Regions from separate parts of the Homo sapiens genome. Here all the other regions are linked to region 1. Evidence: promoter capture Hi-C in 16 types of primary human blood cells and fetal thymus (Javierre and others, 2016). All regions are on one chromosome and are shown on one strand. Each heading gives the region's core, a stretch centred on a gene start or on the middle of the fragment in contact. The rest is flanking DNA. Distances are from core to core; before and after follow the strand shown. Region 1 holds the start of DUSP23 (dual specificity phosphatase 23). Region 2 has its middle 7.3 kb from the start of FCER1A. Region 3 has its middle 20 kb from the start of FCER1A. Region 4 has its middle 39 kb from the start of FCER1A. Region 5 overlaps LOC124904433 (a long non-coding RNA gene). Region 6 has its middle 61 kb from the start of OR10J1. Region 7 has its middle 43 kb from the start of OR10J1.

The links. Contacts are between HindIII fragments. The CHiCAGO score rates a contact against its expected background, and 5 or more counts as called.
Region 2: a contact is called between a fragment that was not itself captured here and the fragment with the promoter of DUSP23 in region 1, in 4 of 17 cell types (M2 macrophages, megakaryocytes, M1 macrophages and 1 more). The highest score is 11.5, in M2 macrophages.
Region 3: a contact is called between a fragment that was not itself captured here and the fragment with the promoter of DUSP23 in region 1, in 3 of 17 cell types (M2 macrophages, endothelial precursors and megakaryocytes). The highest score is 10.2, in M2 macrophages.
Region 4: a fragment that was not itself captured here is called in contact with the fragment with the promoter of DUSP23 in region 1 in 6 of 17 cell types (M2 macrophages, M0 macrophages, endothelial precursors and 3 more); the score reaches 10.8 in M2 macrophages.
Region 5: a fragment that was not itself captured here is called in contact with the fragment with the promoter of DUSP23 in region 1 in 1 of 17 cell types (M2 macrophages); the score reaches 7.4 in M2 macrophages.
Region 6: a contact is called between a fragment that was not itself captured here and the fragment with the promoter of DUSP23 in region 1, in 5 of 17 cell types (M2 macrophages, M0 macrophages, megakaryocytes and 2 more). The highest score is 7.6, in M2 macrophages.
Region 7: a contact is called between a fragment that was not itself captured here and the fragment with the promoter of DUSP23 in region 1, in 3 of 17 cell types (M2 macrophages, endothelial precursors and megakaryocytes). The highest score is 8.6, in M2 macrophages.

What each region holds. Positions count from the first base shown.
Region 1 is chr1:159,779,302-159,783,006 of GRCh38, reverse strand. It overlaps DUSP23 (dual specificity phosphatase 23), which reads right to left and starts at 2,045. Exons shown (of 2, transcript NM_001319658.2): 1 at 1,640-2,045; 2 at 464-854. The coding sequence starts at 1,906. The coding sequence ends at 669. LOC101928264 (a long non-coding RNA gene) reads left to right here and starts at 3,626. Exons shown (of 3, transcript XR_922193.3): 1 at 3,626-3,705. RefSeq lists an enhancer at 1,153-1,729 and a silencer at 1,721-2,110. The HindIII fragment of the contact is 4,062 bases long and covers 1-3,271 here.
Region 2 is chr1:159,293,224-159,296,928 of GRCh38, reverse strand. It overlaps a transcript of FCER1A not described here. Among named protein-coding and RNA genes, the nearest start is that of FCER1A, 7.3 kb to the left of the region's middle. The HindIII fragment of the contact is 9,514 bases long and covers 1-3,705 here.
Region 3 is chr1:159,320,928-159,324,632 of GRCh38, reverse strand. No RefSeq gene overlaps it. Among named protein-coding and RNA genes, the nearest start is that of FCER1A, 20 kb to the right of the region's middle. The HindIII fragment of the contact is 7,617 bases long and covers 1-3,705 here.
Region 4 is chr1:159,339,364-159,343,068 of GRCh38, reverse strand. No RefSeq gene overlaps it. Among named protein-coding and RNA genes, the nearest start is that of FCER1A, 39 kb to the right of the region's middle. The HindIII fragment of the contact is 1,217 bases long and covers 1,009-2,225 here.
Region 5 is chr1:159,355,985-159,359,689 of GRCh38, reverse strand. The region is part of intron 1 of LOC124904433 (a long non-coding RNA gene); the gene reads left to right. Among named protein-coding and RNA genes, the nearest start is that of FCER1A, 56 kb to the right of the region's middle. The HindIII fragment of the contact is 2,769 bases long and covers 248-3,016 here.
Region 6 is chr1:159,376,534-159,380,238 of GRCh38, reverse strand. No RefSeq gene overlaps it. Among named protein-coding and RNA genes, the nearest start is that of OR10J1, 61 kb to the left of the region's middle. The HindIII fragment of the contact is 185 bases long and covers 1,514-1,698 here.
Region 7 is chr1:159,394,843-159,398,547 of GRCh38, reverse strand. It overlaps a transcript of OR10J1 not described here. Among named protein-coding and RNA genes, the nearest start is that of OR10J1, 43 kb to the left of the region's middle. The HindIII fragment of the contact is 4,279 bases long and covers 1-3,705 here.

The sequences.
Region 1 (3,705 bases), core at 796-3,295:
AAGAGGTGACCAGCCCTGTGGAGGTGGAGATGGTGGTTATCTGTGAGTGTGACATCCAGGCTGTCTCTACCCCCAGATAAACAAGGGTGACACGTGTGCAGCAGGTGGGCCTACACGGAGGGGCCTCCTGGCCTGTGAGCATCAGAGACCTGGGAATGCCAGGAGGCCAGGCTATTCTGGACCTGAATCCTTTTCATTGACTAGCTCCCCCAGAAAACACATCAAATATTGTCAGGGAACAGATACATAGCATTTCAGCATCTTCAAGGGATTGAAGACGTGTGTTGCTGTTCTGGCCCATCCTTCCACTTTCTAGAAGTGTTGAAGATGGGCCTCTCTGAGCTTTGCCCACCTCATCCAAAGAACAGAGATGGCCCATCTGTCTTTCCTGTATCACAGGGCTACAGTGAGGCTGAAGTAAGTTAATGTGTGGGAATGCTTTATAAAGTACCATGCAACGTGCCCTGGTTCGTAAAACTCATTTATTCAACAAAGCAGTACAAGCCTCCCCTTCAATCAGGACCTGCCTGCAGGGGTGGGCTACTTCAGTGTCTTCAGCCAATGGGAGCTAGAGGGTTTAATACTTTAGTCCACTTCCCTTCATCTCTGGCCCCATCGACAACATGGGGAAGGGGAGTGAGGGCCTGGTAGAAGGGTACTAAGGCCCCTTATTTCGTTCGCTGGTAGAACTGGAAGACTGCTTTCTCCTGCTCATAGGTCTCGATGGAGCCGGGTCGTAGTCGTCGGATTTCAGCAATGGCATCTCCTGCAGCCAAGCCCCGCTCCTTCACCAGGTAACAGGCCAGCATGGTGCCAGTGCGGCCAAAGCCCAGAGCACAGTGCACTCCCACAGCCTACGAAGAGGGGGCTCGATGGGTGCCACTCAACTCCCCCACCCACAACTGTTTCCTGCCCCTCACTTGGTTCTCCCCACAGCTCCTTCTTCTGTGCCAGGTCCAGGGCTCTGCAGCAAAGTCAGGGAGGGCTGTCCCTGCACTAGGTGGCTAGGAGGCCTCTGCACTGGCTGGTTCAAGAGCTGTCCACCTCTACACAGCCCTCCACCTGTGGTGTTCAATACAGAAGACAGTAGCCACGGCTACTGTGGCTACTGTACTCGAAATGTGGCTAGTCCAAACTGAGATGTAGTGTGAAAAACGCAACAGGGTATGAAGAGGTAGTAGAAAAAAGAATGAAAATATCTCATTAAGATCACCAAAGTTAATTTTATCTGCTTCCCTGCTTTTTAAGAATGCCGTTGCTAGAAAAATTAACATTACATGGAGCCACTTAGGTTCCATTATATTTGGACAGCTTTACTCTAGAAAATGGTAAACAGCCTCCACCTGACTTCAACCCCCACCTCTCCCAGGTGTCTGTCCACACCCTTCTCCTTCACAACTCACAGTATTAGCTGGTTTTCACTGCCTCTCCTCAAGCCCAGTTCGCACTGCTTCGCCCTCTCTTTAGTTCCTTCCGTTTAGCGCTTCCCTCCCCCGCACTGGCTTCCCAGTCTCCCGGCCCTACTGTCTGCCTCCCCGAGCCCAGTTAAGTTATCCCAGGCCCGGTCTCCCCAGCTCCGCCCGTGTCCCCCGCTGACCTTCCAGGCCCCTCCCTCCCTGCGCTGACCCCGCCCGCTGACCTCTCCCCGTGCGTTGGCCTCGTCCACGATCTGCACGAAGCGGTCGATCTGGTCGGGGGCCGGCGGGCAGAAGTCGGGGATGCGCAGGCGGTGCAGGGTGAGGCCGGGGCAGCTGTCGCTGTGAGGGGGCCCGCGCTCCGTCAGGGACACCAGGTGCCGCACGCCCAGGTCCAACAGGAACTGGTAGTGGGCGGGGAGCCGCGGCAGCGCCAGTCCCGCCAGCCGGCCCGGAAGCACCCAGGAGAAGTTGGGGGGCTGCACGCCCATCGCTGGGAAAGGGCACAGGACAGCGGGTCATGGGGGCCGAGGCTGGCCAGCCCCGCTCCGCCCACGCGTCCCCTCGCCCGCTCCGAGCCAAGTAACTCACCACCTACCTGGCCTCGGCGCCTCCCGGGCCACGTGGTCTGCAGGGCGCCGCCCTCGGGTCGCTCTGCCCAGCCGCGGGGATTGGCCCAGAACCTGGGGCGGGGCTGGAACGCGGAACCCAGTCTCTGAGCGACCGAGGGAAGCGCCGCGATCCCGCCCCGTCCGAGCAGATCACGCGGTGATTGGCTGGATCATCATAATGGGCGGGGGGTTACTTCCACGGGGTTCAACCCACTCAGCTAAGAAGGAAGACCTGGAGCGAGTTAGGAATTGTTTGCTGCGGATGGAACAACCCGGGGTCGGGCTCTGCTGCACCCTGGCGGCATGTTGCAGTCATTGCGTCACTGGCGCCTGCCCCTGCCTCCTCGCGGGCCGGCCTAGTTCTACCTCCTTCACGCTGGATGCCCTGGGGTTTAAGAGATGACAAATCGGCTTTCTCCCAGGACGAGGAGTCTCCTCTCTAATGATTGACTGGTCGTTATCAGCGACTTTTTGAACTGTTCCAGTAAGAGGGAATTACTGCTGCAAGGAGGCTATTCTCATTTTTTCATTGCTGGAACTATTAAAAACTTACCCAGGGTAATAATTATAGTAATAATAATAACCAGCACCAACTTCTCCTGTCAATCCAGTTGCTCCTCAGGACTTATTGAGCATTTATTATGTGCTAGATAGTCTTCTAAGCACTTAGCACATACTGACTCATTTAATTGCCACAGTAATCTTATAAGATAGGTGATCTAGTGAATCCCATTTTATGGATGAAAAAACAGAGGCACTGGAGAGGTTAATAAACTTGACCAAAGGATGATGACTAATGCCTCCAAAATCTTTAATAATATCGCCATTTCCTAAAGTTAAATGGAACATTGTTTTCTCTTCACATAACCCCCTCATGTCCCCAAATATTATCTGGGTTAAACGCTTGTGGGTTTTCTTAATTTTTATTAGTATTTCATATTTCTTCATTTTTCAAGGTTTCCTAGTTCTCTGGGTCACTGTCCCCTGGGCAGGCTAGAGTTGATTAGTGTTGTTCTTACTAGGTGGGGGCCCCTAGATCTGAACACCGTTTCCACTGTCATCTGACCAGTCCATATCCTCATTTGAATAATGTGCTTCTAGCGATGCAGACTAACTGTAATTATGAAAATAGTTAACCCTTATTGAATTTGTTTATGTACCAGGCCCTGTGCCAAGCGCTTTCTGGAAGAACCACATGTGAAAGGTATTTTTGTATCTTTTTTTGTACATGAATCATTGGAAGCTTAAAGAAGTTGGTTAACTTGGCCAAGGACACAGTGATCCAAGCCCAGGGCACTTGGCCATGAGGATGTATTATATTTCCTTCCCTTTGCACCCACCTATGACACACGTCTGACCATTTAAGCCTTTGGCTTCAGCAAGATGGAAAGCAATTTGTCTTCTCCTAAAGATCAAAGCCTGCTCTGACCCTGTGGGAAATACACTTACCATTTACCCAGACAATTACTTTCCCCAGGTTCCAGGAGGTGCCAAATCTCCCCTTTTTCTCCTTCCAGACAATCACAGCCCTCATTAAGCCCTTCCTGTTTGCACTCTCATTTCCTACATAAATTCCTATCAAGGTTACCAGCCCTCCCCAGTTTATTCCTTTCTCTCTTTCCCAGCCATGGCCTCTCAGCCACCAGTCACCTCTTCCCCCAACCCCCTGACCTCCCACT
Region 2 (3,705 bases), core at 322-2,821, 490 kb after region 1:
GTTTCTAGTGCGTGAAAGAGGGTATGAGTGAGGATGGGAACAGTGGGAGGGGCAGGACGCATTCTGAAACTTTCTCATCATACTCTGTGTTACCACCTACAAAAGGCCTTTAGGAAATGTAAGTTTATGCATGAGAATGTATGTATGTGTATTGAGGGTTGCTTGTTTCAATGATGAGTATACAGGAGACATTTGTAGCATTAGCAGGCAAACAAATGCCCTGCAATACTGAAGGCAGCCTTGCATACTAAATAATTGGCCTGATTCTGCACATCTTTTCAATGTGCAGCCAGATATTTTATAATTATCTGAGCCTTAAACACGACTGTGAAAAACACAAAAGCATCTTTTGCATTTCTCATACATACTGTATTTTACAGAAAAGAAACTACCATGTATATTGAGGAAAGATTATCCTTGGCTTTTACTGGAAAAACATCCTTGAATTTTTCACTGTTTCAGAAAATCAGATCACCTGTAGCTACACTGTTCATGATATTTGTGTCACCAATACCTTATTCTCATATCAGTCTGTTTTTGTAGCACTCATATTCATGAAGGACATATTTTCCTATTATAATGTTATTTCCCTTTATTTCTTCTTTATATTAAAACTGGGAATTTTACTGATTAAAAAATATATGTGTGTGTAAGTAGCAGAGGTAGATCCAGTTTGAGGCCCTGAAACTTAAACAGTTTAAGGGGGCTTCCTTAAAAAATCCAGTAGAAATTTTTGAATACAATATTAGATATTAAAATTACTATTTAGGACAAGAAAGTTAATCACAAAAGGTTAAAAATATACCAGCTGACAAATGACATAAACATTATAAAATTCATCAGAAAGTAAACAGATATTCCACTATCCTCTTCCTTTTCAAAATATTGTTATTACATGTTATTTGATCTCCTCTTCCTCAGACAGAGATATTGTAATATCATTTTTATAGACAAACTAGAAATATAATTTATTCTTTTCTCTAGCATCATTGAGCACCACTTATTTTCTATTATTGATTGTTGGGAGTGCATAGAGTATGCAGTTTCACAGCAATATTCTCACTATTTGTAGTGTGGTTACAGGTTTATGCCTTACAAACACAGGAATAAATGCATGCTATCAAATGTGATCTGATAGGATTGAAAACCACTGCTAAATTCTGAAGAAGAAAAAAGGGCCAGAGAAACATGGAATAGGGGCCCTGATCCGCAGTTTCCAGTGATATTCATCACAGCTTTTTCCTTTGTCTCTTCCAAAACGGGAAACACTTGCAGATTATCATAGAGGTTCAAGAAAACAAATGAATATTGAGTGTCTGTGATTAGACTATTAGACCGAATATTAGAAATAGATTCAGTGACATAAAATTTGGGACATTTTGGTGGCCATTCCCGTAGAATAGTGTTTATTATAATTAGGAATTTGTAAGTTTTTTAATTAGAAAATTTGTACGTTTTTCATTGATAATAAATAAATGAATATAAATATGGATCATTCAGATGACCATTTCATAACCAAAAATTGCATCTTTATTTCAACATCTGCATTTCCATTTTTTTGTTTGCAATTTACAACTGCATCTAGTGACCGACAAATTAAGTCATGCTGCACCTATGAATGAGGGTTTTATGTTGTTCAGAGACAGGTGGACAAAAAAAGGAACTGACACAAGGCCCACCCTAGAATAGGCTGCCAAACACAGAACAACCCTCTTTATCATAGGTAATAGCACAGTCACGTTGCAGAAAGATATATGAAGAAAATCTTCTCTGCATGACCCAAGGGGCAAGAGTTAATTAGAAGTCTATAGCAGAGAATGTAAAATAAATAATTTTTTGTATTCTCAATTCCTAAATTGAATTTATACTAATCAACCATATATTTCAATAATCTCATGATGCCAATTTATCTTTAAGAGAAAAAAGATAACTTCAGAATTATCAAGGGCTATCTCATTAAAGTTAGCATTTGATCATAGTTTGCTGGTAGAATTTTGGCTAATTATATTTTCTAATTTTTCAGAATGAGCAAACTATGTCTTGAAGTTTATTAATAGTGTTTTTTATAATATACTTTTCCAAACAGGCAATCTCTGAGCTTGAATTATTATGGACAAATAAAGAAATGGCTTAAATATGGATACAGACCTGTTACTTGATCTTTCTGTCACTAAAACTAACACAAAAATTTAGTTTCAGCATAGGAACATTCTTCATCATATATTTTCATTTCTTTGTTCAACAAGTATTTATATTCCAAGCACTCTGTCATTTGCTGGTGATACAAGAGAGATAATAAGCAGACAAGATCTTTTCCCTTGGGGAGAAGACTTTCTATTGGAGAAAACAGAAAATAAATAAGTAAACAGAACAGTGACAGCTTGTGACTAACGTTTGTAAAAAGTAAATAATGTTGCTCCATAGACGTACAAGGACAATCTGTTTTAAATAGGGTTAAGAAAGGCCATTTGATGAAAAATGACTTTTAAGTAGAGACTTAAAGTACGAGATAGGATGAAACAAGACAAAGGCTGGAACAAGAATTTTCAAGCAGTGGGAAGTTGAAAGTCCCCATAAAAAGAAAGACTTTGGAGAATTGTAGAAATTAAGAGAAGGTTCCAAGTCTTTGCTATTGTGAATAGTGCCGCAATAAACATACGTGTGCATGTGTCTTTATAGCAGCATGATTTATAGTCCTTTGCGTATATACCCAGTAATGGGATGGCTGGGTCAAATGGTATTTCTAGTTCTAGATCCCTGAGGAATGGCCACACTGACTTCCACAAGGGTTGAACTAGTTTACCATCCTACCAACAGTGTAAAAGTGTTCCTATTTCTCCACATCCTCTCCAGCACCTGTTGTTTCCTGACTTTTTAATGGTTGCCATTCTAACTGGTGTGAGATGGTATCTCATTGTGGTTTTGATTTGCATTTCTCTGATGGCCAGTGATGGTGAGCATTTTTTCATGTGTTTTTTGGCTGCATAAATGTCTTCTTTTGAGAAGTGTCTGTTCATGTCCTTCGCCCACTTTTTGATGGGGTTGTTTGTTTTTTTTCTTGTAAATTTGTTTGAGTTCATTGTAGATTCTGGATATTAGCCCTTTGTCAGATGAGTAGGTTGCAAATGTCCAACAGTGATAGACTGGATTAAGAAAATGTGGCACATATACACCATGGAATACTATGCAGCCATAAAAAGTGATGAGTTCATGTCCTTTGTAGGGACATGGATGAAATTGGAAATCATCATTCTCAGTAAACTATCACAAGAACAAAAAACCAAACACCGCATATTCTCACTCATAGATGGGAATTGAACAATGAGAACACATGGACACAGGAAGGGGAACATCACACTCTGGGGACTGTTGTGGGGTGGGGGGAGGGGGGAGGGATAGCTTTAGGAGATATACCTAATGCTAAATGACGAGTTAATGGGTGCGGCACACCAGCATGTCACATGTATACATATGTAACTAACCTGCACATTGGGCATATGTACCCTAAAACTTAAAGTATAATAATAATAAAATTTAAAAAAAAGAAATTAAGAGAAGGACATTAGGGCTGAAGCATAGCGAGTAGAAGGCCAATGGCATAAAACGAGATTGGAGATACACATAGGGGCCAGATCATGAGGGCCTGGAAGAACATGAAAAAGTGTTGGGATTTTATTTGAAAGCTAAGAAAGAGCCACCGGACTG
Region 3 (3,705 bases), core at 598-3,097, 460 kb after region 1:
CTTCTGGCTTGTAGAGTTTCTGCTGAGAGATCTGCTATTAGTCTGATGGGCTTCCCTTTGTGGGTAACCCGACCTTTCTCTCTGGCTGCCCTTAACATTTTTTCCTTCATTTCAACTTTGGTGAATCTGACACTTATGTGTCTTGGAGTTGCTCTTCTCGAGGAGTATCTTTGTGGTGTTCTCTGTATTTCCTGAATCTGAATGTTGGCCTGCCTTGCTAAATTGGGGAAGGTCTCCTGGATAATATCCTGCAGAGTGTTTTCCAACTTGGTTCCATTCTCCCTGTCACTTTCAGGTACACCAATCAGATGTAGATTCGGTCTTTTCACATAGTCCCATATTTCTTGGAGGCTCTGTTCATTTCTTTTTATTCTTTTTTCTCTAAACTTCCCTTCTCGCTTCATTTCATTCATTTCATCTTCTATCACTGATATCCTTTCTTCCAGTTGATCGCATCAGCTCCTGAGGTTTCTGCATTCTTCACATAGTTCTCAAGCCTTGGCTTTCAGCTCCATCAGCTCCTTTAAGCACTTCTCTACATTGGTTATTCTAGCTATATATTTGTCTAAATTTTTTTTCAAAGTTTTTAACTTCTTTGCCATTGGTTTGAATTTCCTCCTGTAGCTCGGAGCAGTTTGATTGTCTGAAGCCTTCTTCTCTCAACTCGTCAAAGTCATTCTCCGTCCAGCTTTGTTCCGTTGCTGGTGAGGAACTGCTTTCCTTTGGAGGAGGAGAGGCGCTCTGCTTTTTAGAGTTTCCAGTTTTTCCGCTCTGTTTTTTCCCCATCTTTGTGGTTTTATCTACTTTTGATCTTTGATGATGGTGCCATACAGATGGTTTTTGGTGTGGATGTCCTTTCTGTTTGTTAGTTTTCCTTCTAACAGATAGAACCCTCAGCTGCAGGTCTGTTGGAGTTTGCTAGAGGTCCACTCCAGACCCTGTTTGCCTGGGTATCAGCAGCAGTGGCTGCAGAACAGTGGATTTTCGTGAACTTCATGTTTCTTTTAATTCAGGTTTGCTGGTGACAAATTCTCTCTCTCTCTCTTTTTTTTTTTTTTTTTTTTTGCATATCTAAAACTCTTATTGTTTTTGTCTCCCTTTTGAAAGGATATTTTCCCTGATTATAGAATTCTAGCTTGGTAGTTGTTTTCTTTCAGTATGTTAAAAATGTCATTCCATTAATTTCTGTTTTCCTGCTGTTAATGGGTCAATTATTAGCCTTACAGTTAGTCCTTGAAAATAACGTGTCCTTTTACTCTAACTCCTTTTAAGGCTTTTTCTTTCTATCTTTCTTTTTTCTGTTGTTTTATTTGATATGCCTACATGAATTTTATGTATCATTGAATATGTATTTATCCTGTTGGTAGGCAACTCAGGATGATTCTTGAATTTGTGTCTTAATGATTTCCTCAAGTTTGAAAAATTCATGGCCACTGTTTCTTCGTATATTGCTTCTGATACATTCTATCTCTCCTATTAATCTGGTAGTCTAATTACACATATGCTAGACCTTTTCCTGGGGTTCTATATGCTTCTTACGCTCTTTTATACATATTGCACTACTTTTTTTTCCCTGTGCTTCAATCTAGGTATTTTTTACTGACACATCTTCCAATTCACTGATTTTATCTCCAGTTATTTCTAATGTGGTGTTATAACATCTATTAAGTTCTTAGTTTCTCTTATTATATTTTATACTTCTAGTGTTTTCACTTTATTTTTAAATAATATTTCTCATTCTCTGCTGTGATTTGAAAATTTGTCTTACATTATTTTTTCAGCATAATAATCATTATAGTAGTTTTTATTGCTGCATAACAAATTAGCATGTTTAGTAGCTTAAAATGCCACAAAATTTCCATTGGACAGGTGTTCTAGGCATGGCTTAGCTGGGTTCTCTGCTCAGGATCTCACACACCTGCAATCAGCATCAGCAGAGCTGTATTCCTTCATGGAGTTTGGCATCCACTTCCAAACTCATGTAGTTGTTGGCAGAATTGGCTTTCAGCTGAAACTGTTAGTTCTTAGAAGTTGCATATATTCCTTGCTACACCACCCTGTTACAAGTTATCTTAAAACATGGCCACTTAATTCTTTAAAGTCAGCAAGTTAGTATTCTTGCTCCATTCTGTTATGATAAATTCTTATATAATGTTATATAAGCATGGGAGTGAGACATATCATTGTCTTTGGCATATTCTATTGAACAGAGGCAAGTCACAGTTCTGTCCACACTCAAATGAAGGGAATACATGGGTGTGACTCATTATGGGTCACCTTAGAATGTGTCTGCCACAGTCATATTTATCTTAAATTTGTATTTTGTAACTTTAATATGATTATTTTATGGGTTTGTTTGTATTGAGTTTTTTTTTTTAATTTGTTGAGTCTTAGATCTTTGGTTTTTTATCCTGGTATGTCTGGTGCATTTTTATTACATCTTGGACACTCTCTATCAGAAATCCTCACACTTTCCTGAAAAGGGCCAAGTAATTAATAATTTAGGGTTTGTGGATCATACATAAGTCCCTGTTCCAACTATTAAATTCTGCTATAGTAGCACAAAAGAAGCCATAGATTATACATAAGTGAATGAGTGGGGTTGTGGTTCAAAAAATTTTGGGGTTTTTGTGTGTGCTTACTATATTTGAATTTTACATAGCTTTCACATGTCACAAAGTATTTTTTAAATTTGTTTTCAATTATTTAAAATTGTAAAAACTAGTATACCCCTTGCAGGCTATGCAAAAACATGTAGTGGGCTGATGGGCTGTAGTTTTCCTACTCCAGTACTATATGAAAAAAAATATAAAGACAAATTGGTACTCTAGATTATATTATCTTCCTCTAGAGAATATTTTATTTTGCTTCTCGACAGGTAATTAGACTAGGGGCAAGATCATATTAATCTAACTAGAAATTAAATTAATTTGAAGTTTTAGTCTCTGTGAAGGGTTCATTTATTTCCACTTTACCCTTTCACAGAGAATATAACCCTTAAGCATATGGAAATTTCCAGATACTCTTCTCAGTTTATTAGTTTTTTTGACCAAAGACTACAAACAACAAATTACAATTCCTCAAGGAAACTGCAAAGAAGTGAGATTCGAGCTAACATTTCTGCATATTCTTTCTTTCTAGAATCTTGGCTCCTCAATTATTCACTGACTTAGTAGCTATATCCATATAGTATGGTCACTATAGCATCATTCTAGAGGTGTAGGAGAACTAATTCTATCCTTCAATTTTGTGTATGAATAGTGGCAGGGTGAAAAGAATCCTGGTAAGGAGTCACTTATTCCAGTTCTGTCGCTTGTTTTCAGTTTCTTCATTTTTAAAATAGAGATAATAGTGTGGATGTATATGTCCACTTTATCATGTTATTGTGAGGTAACATAAAACAAGGTGACGGATGCAGAATAGGAGGCAAAATCATCAGCAGCAGCATCACCACTACTACATTATTATGTCATCACTTATAGATGAACACACCAAGGCCCAGATACATGTCAGTCTAAATACTTGACAAGTTAGTCACAACTATGGAACTAAAACCTGGGTAAACCAAATCATTAATCTAATGCTTTATTCACCATTACCAAGATGTCTTTTTAGGTTGCTACCATTAGCAGTACCACCACTGAACACAAATTCAAATTAAATTCAATATTACCAATATAGGCCAGCTTATGAGGCTGGATTTCC
Region 4 (3,705 bases), core at 368-2,867, 440 kb after region 1:
TCCGCCCGCCCCCCCCCCACACACACACACATTATGCTGAGTACATTTTTCTGAAAGTAGTGATCCTGATGCCCCCATGCATTGTTGCTGAAAAGGGGCAGGAACAGTAATCTGACCAGGACTGTGCATGATAGATAAGGGGTGTCAACGGAGCATATAGACTCTCAAAGCTGATGGAAAAATGAAGGTAGCCCTTATACTCTAAATGGCTGAGGAGTTAGAAAATAAAATGCAGAAACAAACATTTGGTTAACATACACCAGCCTAAAGGCTAGTGATTACTCTGCAAGGAAATAAAATACTCCCATTTGGTAGGTGGAGAATTTGAGGCTCAGTGGGATAAGCTACTTCAGTGGGATAAGCTACTTAAGTCCGACTCACAGATCTAGTAATTGGCAGTTGCAGGTGTGAAACAAAGATATTTCTAACTCCAAATCCCATGCATTTCCAACAGATCAATGCCCTACTGAATGAATTTTCAGGCAAGGTGTTCAGGTAAGAGAAGAAGGAGACAATAGCTGTATGAAAACTGCATCTCAGCCTTATTGACTCAAAAGATGCCAGGGACATCAGGAACAGATGACAATTCTGGGAGTTATGAAAGTTGTCTTATTCACTCTTCCCTCCAAGATTTTCTGCAGCTGATTTTATTATTTAAACATAAAGCTTGTAAGAATACTATATTTCACTTTATAAGTCATCAGCTCTCAATCAGCCATCATGCAAGATACAGGGAAATTATGAAATTCTAATATCACAAAAATAATCAGAAAACTGAAGAGAAAAAGGAAGTATATCAGAAAATTTAAAATCAAGTTTCCTCTCCTTTTTTTCCTATCAATAACCACTTACTTTTTGCAAACTTGGCAGAGGAAATGAGAGAAATTCTCCTTTTAGCTGGTGTATTTGAACATGAAAAGAAAATAAATAAATAAAATAAACAACAACAACAAAAAAACCCTGAGATTAGAACCTCTCCAAAAGGTCTAGTAGGAGAAATTGAAAGCTTCAAGCCTGGATGATCAGCACTTCCTGAGTGTCTGAAGGAAGATTCGAGTATGGTGACTAATTCAAGGTCCAGAGCATTGACTCCTCTGGCTTGGGAAGTCTTCCTGCAGAGTTGAAATCTCTTGCAACCCCAAATCCAGGAACTCTGTTTACTCCTGAAAGAGAAGCAACTTCATCTGCTCTAGAACTCTGGGGACTTCCCCTTGAGAATCATTCCAGGGCACGGAGGGAAGCAAAGTGTATGACTCTATCCCAGGGATCTGATTAGGAATTTGGGCAATTAGTAAAACAAAACTCATTGCCTTTGGTTATTGACTCACCAAAGCAGCTTGCATCTTAGAATGTAAAGTCTATTTTGTTAACAAACCAATGAACCTAGAAGAAACCTGCAAAATAAAATGGCCTATTTATTATACGTTTGAGGATCATTTCTTTATTTATTAAACCAATAAATATTAATGGAGAGCTTAAGTGCGATGAATTATGCTGAGTATTGAGGACACAAGCATGACAAAAACAGTCATGGTGTTTGCTCACATAGAGCTTATCAAGGAGGGAGGCATACAAAACTATAGCTAATCCATTATTATCTTTGTGCAAATTAGCAAAAGGAGACTCTTCATGTAGATGCAGCCAATGTACACACTCCTTTGTGAGCAGAGACTGTATTTATACAATTAGTAAAAGGGCACTCCTGCTTATAGACAGAGGGAGATCTATAACAGGATGTATGGCTTGTCAAGTGCACTGTGAGCTAGATTTTACCCCTCATTCTCTCCCTGATTAGGTGTTCTTGTCCTTGTCCAGTGAATAGCCTTCCCACCTAGGCATATTTCAAATAAATCATCTCACAAGTAAATACATTATTATGAACAAAAATAAATGCTATAAGGAAAGGTTTGAGCCATTATGAGAGCATATAACAGAGAGGGCAGGTTGTCCTAGTCTGGGAAGACTTTAAATACTTTTCTGAGGAATGATGTTCAAACAGGAATATTTAAGATAGATATAGGTCAACCAAGAAAGAAATTTTAAGATAGAGAGAAAACATGAGTGAAGGACTTGAGAGATTAATGATAATAACTCATTCTGAGAAGTGAAAGAAGGCAAAATTGTACACACAGTCTGAGGAAGAGATGATGTTAGAAGGTAATAGGGGATGAGATCATACAGAGTCTTGTGCCACTTTGTAAGGCCAATGTGGAGCCAGCAAAGCTTTTAAAACCGTGAATAGCACAATCAGATGTGCATTTCAAAAAGTCTAGTTGAAATGAGAAAAATGAATTGGAGAAGTAAATTTGGAAGCAGAAAATTTAATTAGGAAGATACTGCAGTTCTCCAATGGAAATATGATGAGAGCTGGAACTAGGGTAGTAGACATGAAGATGATTTTGGCTTGTTGGGACACATAGAACCAGCTCACAATAGGCATCCTAGGATACATGGTCAAGAGACCTGCCTTTACCAGCCGTAGCAGTGATTTGAGTCGTTTCTTAAAAGATGTTTGTCTAGAGAAAGTGCAGCTTTTTAAAGAAGTCTGAAGGGCCTGCATTGTAATCCTCCTATTGTAGCTTCACAGAATACCAACTTAATTCTCCACATGGAGAATCATTATAGCCTCTCACCCAATTTCAGACTAGAACCCTTGAATGAAGAGGTGGCCATATACCTTTAGGAACAGACCTTGTGATATTGCCACAAATATATATTATAAACACACATATCAGTCACTATAAAAAATAAACTCTCATTGAACACGTGGAATCTACTGAATTGTAAGGCTTTAGTGGTAGAGCTGCTTACACTGTATTCTTGACTAACTTCAGAGCCTTCCCTTGTTTTGGGCCCTACTCAAAACTGATGGTATCATAAATTACTTAGGAAATGGGTTGAAGTAGCTGATGTGTAATACGTTGCCAAATGTGTCTATTTCAAATAATACATTTAGAAATAGGGAAATAAATAGGATACATTTGGGAATCACTGGACATGTCATGAAATAAATTCAGACCAACATTTGCTAATTTTAGTTGACCTTCCTGACCCTCTATGCTACATTGTTGCTATGGTTTGAATGTTTCTGCCAAAACTCAGGTTGAAATTTAATTGTAATTGTAACAATGTTGAGAGGTAGGACTTTTAACAGGTGATTAGGTCATGAGGACTCTGCTCCCGTGAATGGGCTAATACTGTTATCAGCAAAGTGCATTAGTTATCATGGGAATAGGTTCTTGATAAAAAGGATGAATGTGGCCCAGTTTTCTCTCTGCCTCACATGCATGCTTGCTTCCTCATTCTACCATGGGCTGACCTTTGTCAGATGCCAGTGCCATTCTCATGGGCCTCCCAGCTCCAGAACAGTGAGTCAAACTTCTGTTATTTATAAATTACCCAGTCTGTGGTATTCTGTTATAGCAACAGAAAATGGACTAGACAATTGTGTTTGGTATCCATAGATAAGTCAGTTCAGAGGCAGTGTCCAGTAATCTCTCCAGCATATACCCTTATAATCAGTTACCTTGGTGAATGGATGCAGAAGACCATAAAAGAATTTATATTATGTATAATATAAATGTGGTCTTAGAGAAGACCACAAAAAGAATTTATATTATGTATGTACAGCAGTGTCATAGGGTGCATCCTCAAGAGGATATCACCATTCAAGAGGTTCTGGGAATATAAACTTGAGCTACTCTG
Region 5 (3,705 bases), core at 383-2,882, 420 kb after region 1:
CTACGGCTAGTAAAATCTGAGGATGCTCAAGTCCGTTATATCAAATGGCATAATCTTTGCATGCAACCTATGCACATCCTCCCATTTACTTTAAATCATCTCTAGATTACTTATAACATCTAATCAAATGTAAGTGTTATGTAAATGAGTGTTGTACTGTATTGCTTAGAGAATAATGACAAGAAAAAAAGTCTGTGCATGTTCAGTACAGACACAACATTCTTTTTTTTTTTCCTAAACAGAAGCTTTTTAGTTTGTTGTAGTCCCACTTATTTATTTTTGCTTTTGTTACCTGTGCTTTTTGTGTTATATGAAAAAAAAATCATTGCCAAGACTGTTAAGCATCTTTTTCCTATGTTTTCTTTTAGGAATTTTTATGATTTCAGGTCTTAGGTTTAAGTCTTCAATCTGTTCTGAATTAATTTTTGTGTATGCTGTAAAATAATAACCTGTAGTTTTCTTTTCTTCTGCATGTGGATATCACATTTTACCAACACAACAAGAGATTATCTTTTCCCCATGTTATGTCCTTGGTGCCTTTATTGAAGATTGGTTAATTTTGTACATGTGGTTTTATTTCTGGGCTCTTCATTCTGTTCCATTGGTCTATGTTGCTGTTTTTATGCCAGTATTATACTGTATGATTACTACAGCTTTGCAATATATTTAAATCAGGATGTGTGATGCCTTCAGCTTTTCTCTTGTTTCTCAAGATTACTTTGGCTATTTGGGATCTTTTGTGGTTCCATACAAATTTTTAGAATTTTTCCTTTTATTTCTGTAAAAAATACAATTGAAATTCTAATAAATATAGATTACATTCAATCTATAAATCACTTTAGGTATTATAGACATTTTAATAATATAAATTCTTCCAATCCATGAACACGGGATATCTTTCCATTTATTGGTTTCTTCTTTAATTTCTTTCATCAATATTTTTTGGTTTTCAGTATACAAATCTTTCACCTCCCTGGTTAAATTTGTTCTTAAGTAATTTATTCTTTTTTATGTTATTGTAAATGAGATTTTTAAAAATTTTCTTCGTGTATAGTTTATTTTTGATGCAAAGTAATGCTATTGATCTTTGTACACTGAATGTGTATCCTGTACCTTTAGTGAATTTATTTATTCTAACAGTTTTTTTTTCTTTCATGGAGTTTTTAGGGTTTTCTACATAGAGGATCATGTCATCTGCAAACGGAGATAATTTTACTTTTCCCTTTCTAATTTCAATGCCTTTTCTTTCTCTCTCTTTTCTATTTGTCTTTCTAGGACTTCCAGTACTATGTTGAATAGAGTGGCAAGGGTGAGCATTCTTGCCTTATATTGGATTTTAGAGAAAAAGTTGTTTTTCCCTATTGATTATGATATTATCTGTGGGTTTTTCATAAATAGCCTTTATCATGTTTATGTTACTTCTTTCTTTACATATTTTACTGAGAGTTGTTATCATGAATGAATGTCAAACTTTGTAAAATGCTTTTTTCTACATCTATTGAGATTATCATGTGATTTATTTTCATTCCGTTAATGTGATGTATCATAATGATTAATTTGCTTATGTTGATTTCACCCTGCATTCCAGAGATAAATCCCATTTGGCCATGGCGTATAATCTTTGTGGTGTACTATTGGATTTAGATAGCTGGTATTTTATTCAGGATTTTTCATCTATATTCATGGGAGATTTTGACTTGCAGTTTTCTTTTCTTGTGGTGTCTTTGGCTTTGGCCTTATCAAATGAGTATAGAACTGTTTTCTCTTCTATTTTTTAGAAGCGTTTAAGAAGGACTTATATTAAATTTTCTTTGACTGTTTGCTAGGATTCATTCATAAAGCCATCTGGTCCTGGGCTTTTCTTTGTTGGAAGGATTCTAATACTGAGTCAATCTACTGATTATTTTCATCTGTTCAAGTTTTCTATTTCTTCTTGATTAGTTTTGGTAGGCTGCATAATTCTAGAAATTTATCCATTTCTTCCAGGCTATACAAATATAATTTGTTGCCTTTTAATTGTTCATAGAAATCTCTATGATCTTTTTTATTTCTTAGGCATCTGTTGTAATGTCTCTTTCTTCACTTCTAAATTTATATGAGTCTTCTGTCTCTTATTTTCTCTTTTATTCTAGCTAAGGGTTGTCCATTTAATTTATCTTTTTTATAGAAAGAACTTTTAGGTTTGTTAATTTTTCTGTTGTTTTTCGATTCTCTATTTCTGCTCTAATCTTTATTATTTTATTTTTCTGTTAACTTTGGGTGTAGTTTGTTCTTCTTTTTTCTTGTCCCTTGAGGTGTATAGTTAGGTTTCTGCATCTGAGATCTGTCTTTCTTTAAATGTAGGCATTTATGATCATAAACTTTTAGGACTGCTTTTGTTGCATCCTATAGTGTTGGCATGTTTTAATTTTGTTTTCATTTGTTTCAACATATTTTTTAGATTCCTTTTTGATTTTCTCTTTGACCCAATAGTTATAGTGTGTTGTTTAATTTCCATGTAATATAAAATTTTTCCATTTTATTGCTGTTATTGATTTCTAATTTCATTCCATTGTGGTATTAAAAAATACTTGATATGTTTCCATTTTTTTCAAATTTGTTAAGGTTTGTTTTGTGATTTAACATATGATCTATTCTAAAGAATTTTCCATGTTCATTTGAGAAAAATGAGCACTCTGCTGAAGAAAGTTCTTCAAACCCAAAGGAAAGAATGCTAACACGATTGTTAATATTAATATTGTGATTGTGGTGTTTGACCCACTTCTATCTTTACTAAGAAGACTGAAAGAGAAAATAAGACAAATTAAGAACAATAGCTACAGCAATTTAAGGTATAGGCAATATAAAAATTTTAAATTGTGACATCAGAAATTCAAAATATGTGGGGGAGAAGGTAGTCTGTACACATTTTTTTTTATTTTGTTTTTGCTTTGTTACTGTTATTTTCTTGTGATTAAAGCTAAGTTTAAATAAGTTTTTAATTGTGTGTTATAACTATAGGATGTTTGTGTAAGCTTCATGTTAATCACAAAGCAAAAGCATATAATAGATACACTAAAAAAGCTATAAATTAAAATACTCTACCAGAGAAAATAACTTCAATATAAAGAAAGACAGTTAGAAAAGAAGAGAGGAGTTACACCACAACTGGTAAAGAAGTAACAAAATGGCAGTAGCAAGGCTTTACCTATCATAATTACATTGAATGTAAATGGATTAAATTCTCCAGTTAAAGACATAGAGTGGCTGAAAGGATAAATAAGGAAGACCTGACTATATCCTGCCTACAAGACTCAGTTCACCTATACAGACACACATTTATTGAAAGGGAAGAGATGGAAAAAGATACTCTATGCAAATGGAAATCAAGAAAGAGCAGGAGTAGCTATACTTGTATCAGATAAAATAGACTTTAAGTCAAAAACTGTATAAAGAGACAAAGAAGATCACTATATAATAATAAGAAAGTCAATTCAGCAAGAAGATATAACAATAATAAATATACAGTACCCAATACTGGAGCACCCAAATATATAAAGCAATTATTAATACATCTAAAAGATAGACTATAATACGATAATAGTAGGGGACTCCAACACTCCACTTTCAGCACTTGAAAGATTATCCAGGCAGAAAATCAACAAATGGACATCAGAATTAAACTACACTCTGGACTAAGTGGGTCTGACAGACATTTACAGAATA
Region 6 (3,705 bases), core at 357-2,856, 400 kb after region 1:
TTTCCTGCACTGCAGTCTTCTTTTGTGTTTAGATAATTTTTTATAGTGAAATGATTAAACTCTTTTCTCATTTATTTGTGTATATATTCTATACTACAGGCATAATTTATTTTACTGCACTTTGCTTTATGGCACTTCACAGATATTGTGTTTTTTATAAATTGAAAGTTTGTGAATCTTGTATTGAGCAAGGCTATTAGCACCATCTTTTTCAACAGTGTGTGCTCACTTCATGTCTCTGTATCACATTTGGGTAATTCTGACAATATTTTAAACTTTTTCATTATTATTATATCTGCTATGGTGATCTTTGATAAGTGATCTTTGATGTTACTATTATAATTGTTTTGTTTGAACCTATATAAGACAGCAAACTTAATTGATAAATGTTGTGTGTGTTCTGACTGCTCCACTGACTGGCCATTTTCCCATCTTTCTGCTTCTCCTCAGGCTTCCCTATTCACTAAGACATAACAATATTGAAAATTGATGAATTAGTAACCCTACAGTCAACTTTACGTGTTTAAGTGAAAGAGTTGAGTGTGTTTCACTTTAAATCAAAATCTAGAAATAATTAAGCTTAGTGAGGAAGCCTGGTCAAAAGCTGAGATAGGCCAAAATCTAGGCCTCTTGTGCCAAATGGTTAGCCAAGATGTGCATGCAAAGAAAAAAATTCTTGAGGGAAATTAAATTTGCTACATCAGTTAACACACAAATAAGAAAGTGAAAATGCCTTATTACCGATATGAAGAAACTTTTAGAAGTCAGTATAGGAGAGCAAACCAGTCACAACATTCCTTTAAGCTACAGCCTAATTAAGAGCAAGACCCTAAGTCTGTTTAATTCTATGAAGGCTAAGAGAGGTGAAGAGACTGCAGAAGAAGATATTAAGCTAGCAGAATTTCGTTTATAAAATTTAAGGAAATAAATTGTCTCCATAACATAAAAGTTCACGGTAATTCAGGAGTGCTGATGCAAAAATTAGAGCAAATGATCCAGAAAATATAGCTAAGATAATTGATGAAGATGGCTACATTAAACAACATATTTTAAAAATAGCCTTCCATTGGAAGACAGTGCTGTCTAGGACTTCCATAGCTACAGAGGAGAAGCCAATGCTTGGCTTCAAAGCTTCAAGGGACAACTGACTCTCTTGCTAGGGGATGAATGCAGCTGTTGACTTTAAGTTGAAGCCAATGGTTATTTACCACTTTGAAAATTCTAACACCCTTAAGAATTATGCTAAATCTACTCTGCCTATGCTCTATAAATGGAAGAACAAAGCCTGAATTACAACACATCTGTTTAAACCATGGTTTGCTGAATATGGTAAGTCTGTCTTAAGATCTACTGCTCAGGAAAAAAAAAAAGATATCTTTCAAAATATTGACAATGCACCTAGTCACCCAAGAGTTCTGGTGTAGTCATGGTAGGAGAATAATGTTTTCATGCCTGTTAACACAATATTCATTCTTCAGCCCATCTATCAAGAAGTGATTTTGACTTTCAAGCTTTATTATTCAAAAATACATTTCATAAGGTAATAGCTGCCATAGATAATGATTCCTCTGATGGATCTGGGTGAGGCAAATTGAAAACCTTCTGAAAAGAAATTGCCATTCTATATGTCATTATGAACATTCATTATTTATGAGAAAAGGTCACAATATTAGCATTAACAGGAGTTTAGAGGAAGCTTATTTCAATTCTCATGGTGTAGATGTGGTGGAAATAGGAAGAAAACTAGAATTAGAAGTGGAGTTCGAATATATAACTGAATTGCTGCCTTCTCATAATCAAACTTTAACAAATGAGGAGTTGCTTCTTATGGATAAGCAAATAAAGTAGTTTCTTGAGATAGAATCTCCTCCTAGTGAAGAGGTTGTGAACATTATTAAAACAACAACAAATGATTTAAAATATTCCCTAAAACTTAGTTGTTAAACAAATGGCAGGGTTTGAGAGAATTAACTTCCAATTTGAAAGACATTCTATTGTAGGTCAAGTGATATCAAACAGCATTGCCTGCTACAGAGAAATCTTTTGTGAGTCAATTAAGCCTGGACGAGGTGATTCACACCTGTAATCCCAGCACTTTGGGAGGTGGAGGCAGGAAGATAGCTTATAGCCAGAAGTTCAAGACCAGCCAGGGCGATGTAATGAGACCCCATTTCTACAAATAAATAAATAAAATTGGCCAGGTGTGGTGTCTCACACCAGTAGTCCCAGTTTTTTAAGAGGCTGAGGTGGGAGGATCTCTTGAGCTCAGAACTTTAAAGCTATAGTGATCTATGATCACAGCACTGTACTCCAGCTTGGATGACAGAGCAAGACCTTGTCTCTAAAAAAAAATCAATTGATGTGGTAATCTTTATTGTTGTCTCATTTTAATAAATTGGTACAGCAAACCCAATCTTCAGCAACCACCACTCTGCTCAGTAACAGCCATCAACATTGAGGCAAAATGTTCTACTAGCACAAAGATTCGCTGAAGTTTCAGATGATTGTTAGCATTTTTTAAAACAGTAATGTATTTTAAAATTGAAGTCTATACATTGTCTTTAAGACATAATCCTATTACACACTTAATAAACTACAGTATAGTTTAACATAACTTTTATATTCATTGAGAAGCCAAAAATTTGTGTGACTCACTTTATTGTGATATTTGCTTTACTGCAGTGGTCTGAAATCAAACCCACAATATCTCTGAGATACGTGGCTACCATGGGGATTACATTTAATGCCCTAAAGTTATAACACTCTAATTTGAATCTATGTCAGCTTAATTTCAATAACATACAAATCTCTGCTCCTTTAACAGTTCCATTTTCAAATCTTTTGTCTGTTGATGTCATGAAATTTTATCTTTATACACTGTGTATCCAAAACAATAAATTAATAATCATTTAAAATGCATTAGTCTCTTAAATTATGTGGAAAACAAATTGCAAAGTTATAAACCAAAGATACAATAATACTAACTTTCAGATAAATATTTTTTAATGTATTGTTTAGTTAAGTCATGTACATAGCAAAAAGCAGAGTTACAAACCATTGTTAAAATAATAGTTTTTATAATTGTCCATGTATTTACCTTTATTGAGATTTTTAATTATTTTGCTTTGAGTGACTATCTAGTTTCCTTTCATTTTACTCTATAGGACTACCTTGAGCATTTCTCACAGGTTAGTCTAGTGGCAACCACCTCTCTCAGCTTTTGATACTTTGGGTATCTTTGACAAAGCAAACAAAAACATAAAGTGGGGAAAGGACACCCTACTCAACAACTGGTGCTGGGATAATTGGCAAGCACCATGTAGAAGAATGAAACTGGATCCTCATCTCTCACTTTACAAAAAAATCAGCTCAAGATGGATAAAAGACTTAAATTTAAGACCTGAAACCATAAAGATTCTAGAAGATAACATCACAAAAACCCTTCTAGACATTTACTTAGACAAAGACTTCATGACCAAGATCTCCAAAGCAAATTCAACAAAAACAAAGATAAATAGATGGGACTTAATTAAACTGAAAAGCTTCTACACAGCAAAAGAAATAATAAGCAGAGTTAAAAGGCAACCCACAGAGTGGGAGAAAATTTTGACAATGTATACATTAGCCAAAGGGCTAATATCCAGAATCTACAAAGAACTCAAACAAATCATCAAGAATAAAAGAAACAATCCCAACAAAAAGTGT
Region 7 (3,705 bases), core at 371-2,870, 380 kb after region 1:
AAATATATCTGATTGAATTCTGAATTCCTTCCCTGTATTATCTTGAATTTCCTTGAGTTTCCTCAACACATCTATTTTGAATTCCCTTTCTGAAAGGTCACATATCTCTGTTTTTTCAGGATTGGTCCCTAGTGCCTTATTTAGTTAATTTGGTAAGGTCATGTTTTCCTGGACAATGTTGATGGTTGATGCTAGTAGATATTCTTCAGTGTCTGGGAATCAAAGAGTAATGTATGTATTGTAATCTTCACTGTCTTGGCTTATTTGCAGCCATCCTTGAGAAGGCTTTCCAGATATTTGAAAGGACTTGGGTGTTGTGATTTAAGCTGTTTCTGCTTTAGGGGTCACCCTAAGCCCAATAATGCTGCCGTTCTTGCAGACTGTTGCTATGGTATTGCCTTGATGGTCTTGGGTAAGATTACCAGAATTCTCTGTATTACCAGGCAGAGATTCTTATTCTCTTCCCTTACTTTCTCCCAAACATACAGAGTCTCTTTCTCTTTTCTGAGCCACCTACAGCTGGGGGTGTAGTGACACAAGCACTCCTGTGGCCACCATCACTATGACTGCACAGACTTGAAGCCAGGATAGTGCTGGGGCTTGCCCAAGGCCTGCTGTAGCCAGTCCCTGGCTACTGCCTATGTTCACTCAAGGCCCTGGGGCTCTATAATCACCAGGCAGCAAAGACAGCCAGGCCTGTGTCCTTTGCTTTAGGGTGGCAAGGTCCCTCAAGCCCCAGGTGGGTCCAGAAGTGCCATCCAGGAGTCAGGGACTAGAGTCAAAAACCTTAGGAGACTATCTGGTATTCTATTATATTGCAGCTGAGCTGGCACGGAAACCACAAGACATAGTTCTTCCCACTCTTCCTTTCTTTTTCCAAAGGCAGAAGAATCTCACCCCCATAGCCCCCACCGCCCATGGCCATGAGGAGTACTGCCAGACTACCATCAATATTCCTTTAAGGCCTAAGATCTCTTAAGTTAGCTTGTGGTGAATGTTGTCTAGCCTGGGACTCACCCTTCAGGGTAGTGGGCTCCCCTCTGGCCCAGGGCAGGTCCAGAAATGCCATCCAAAAGTCCAGTTCTGGAATCAAGGACCCCCAAGATTCCACTTGGTGCTTTACCCTTTGTGGCAGTGTTCTTACCTAAGGTGCAAGAAAAAGTCCCCTTTACTTTTCCCTCTGCTTTTCTCAAGCAGAATGAGTTTTGCCCCATAGCCACCACAGCTAGTAACATGCTGAGTTTTACCTCAAGCCAGCAAGTCTCAGAGGCTCTCTAAGGCCCTCAGTGTAGTACGTGGGTATCACTGCTGGTTATTCAGGGCCCAAGGGCTCTTTATTTAGCAGTCAATGGATGCTGGCAGGACAGGGTCCTTTTCGTTAAGGCAACAGGTTCCCTTCTGGACCAGGGTGTGTCTAGAAATGTTGGCTGGGGGCTAGGGTCTGAAACAGGGGCCTCCTGACTGACTGGTGCCCTAACCTGCCGTGGCTGAGCTGGTGTCCAAGAAGCGAGACAAAGTCCTCCTCACTCTTTCCTCCCTTCTCCTTAAGTGGAAGAAAGGAGTGTCTTTTGGAGCCATGAACTGTGCAGCCTTGGGTTAGGGGAGGGATGATGCCAGCACTCCTTTGGCTTCCTTAGCTAGTCTCTCAGTCTATTCCATGCCCAACCCTCACAACAAGTCCACTATCTCTGGGCCTAGTTCAGCCCTGGGACTCACCTAAATGTTGCAGTCCTTATGATCTAGACTGCCTTTCAAGTTTACTTAGTGACTGAGAGCACTTTGGCCCTTGGTGGTGAGGTTTGCAGGCACTCATAGTTCGGACTACTGGGACTGGCAATTCCCTACTGGCTAGGGCTAGTTTAAATGCTCCCTCTGTGTATGGGTGTCAGCTGAGTTTGTTGGTTTTCCCTTCTGCTCTAACAGAACAGCACTGAGTCCAATGCCTCACAATTGTGTTCTTCCTCCAGCACGTAGAGATGCTTGCGAGGGTTGGGGAGGGGTGGCATACGTGATTCAGGGCTGTTTTTCTATCTCTTCAGTGCTTTTTTCAGCAATATGAAGTTGAAACCAGGTGTTATGAGTGCTCACCTTATTTTTGGTGTTGTTTTCCTGTGAAGGTAGTTGTTAACTTGCTGTCCTTGCTATGGGGATGATTGGTGCAGCTTCCTATTCTGCCATCTTTTTCCACCTCTCTCCCTGAGCCTGGTGGTTCTTATTCCAAAGTCAGAGAAGAAAGCACTTATGCATTAATTATTGTCTATGCATTAAGAGCTTTGCTAGAAATTTTATACACATTATCTAATTTAAACTATTATTCTCCACAATCTAGTATATTAATCATTTTATTCCCTCAGTTTTCCAAGCGATGTCTATTGAGGGCTTTATTACCTGTTTGTGCTACTCTGCCACGGCTGGCTCTTAGTAGGTTGGAGACCTTCAAGGCTACCAACATTTTGATCATGGGAACTCTTTCAACTCTTAAAAATTATTGGGGACCCTATGAACTTTTGTCCATGTTATTTTACTGTAGTAGAAATTAAAATGGATAATTTTAAAACTGTTAATTTATTTGAAAATAACAATGAACCTATTATGTGTTAACATAAATAACATTTTTATGAAAAATAACCAAAACAACAAAATATTTAGAAGAGTGGCACTACTTTACATTTTTGCAATTCTCTTTAATGTCTGGTTTAATAGAAGACAGCTGGATTATTATGTGCGCTTCTATATCCAATCTGTTGCCATATCACATATTATGTAGCCTCTGGAAAACTCCTGTCTCATGAGAGAATGAATGAAAAAGGTAAATAATATCAGTATTATCATGAAAACAGTTTGATCTCATAGACCCCCTGGAAGAGATCTTCCCACTACTCTTTGAGCACACTTAGACTAGTGTTTAAGTGTATTGCTTGCTATGAGCTGTATTTACTAATGCTCCCACTCTTTACACTGACCACACTCAGTTTTAGAATAAAAAAAAAGAAAAGAAAAACAAAATGCAAAAAACTTGAAGTGGGGATGAGGAAGCATCACTTCTTGGGAGTTGTGAGCAAACAAAACTAATAAGAAGGTCACAGACCTCTATTGTCTTTGAGCATTTCTTGGCCTGTTAAAAGAAGCATCAGAAAGAAGAATGCCTGAGTGGAAGATGGGGAAGAAATGGGATTTGGGTCAGGAGATTCTAAGAGGGATTTCTTACCCATTAGTGCTCAGTATATGAGTGAGAGCTGGGCTTTCCAAAACTTGTTTTCCTGCTGATTTTCTCTTGTTCCTTGACCCCAACCAGCAAACTAGAGTCTACGTTTTGCTTCATAGCATCAGCTGATAATCAGTTGAGACCCTTTCTTCGGACTGCTGATGTCGAGCAGGGAGATAAACAACTGGATGGATTTTTTTTTTTTATAGTTGCATGTTCTAAGCACACTGGAGTTCAGAGCCAAAAAGTTCATTTAAAAAAATCTATTCAAAGAGAGATTCATGTTCGCACTTATCAAAGCAGTGTCTATTTAATCATATTCCTTTTCTCTTTCTCATATGCCAAATTAGTGTATGTGTACACATCTGTTTTTGAGTTACATTCTGTTGTATAAATCTATTTTGGCTATTTTTGTGCCAGTTTTATGCTTCTTTAATGAATATTGATTGATTATATATATCTTGATATCTGCTAGATCAAGAAACTCATTGTAATTTTTT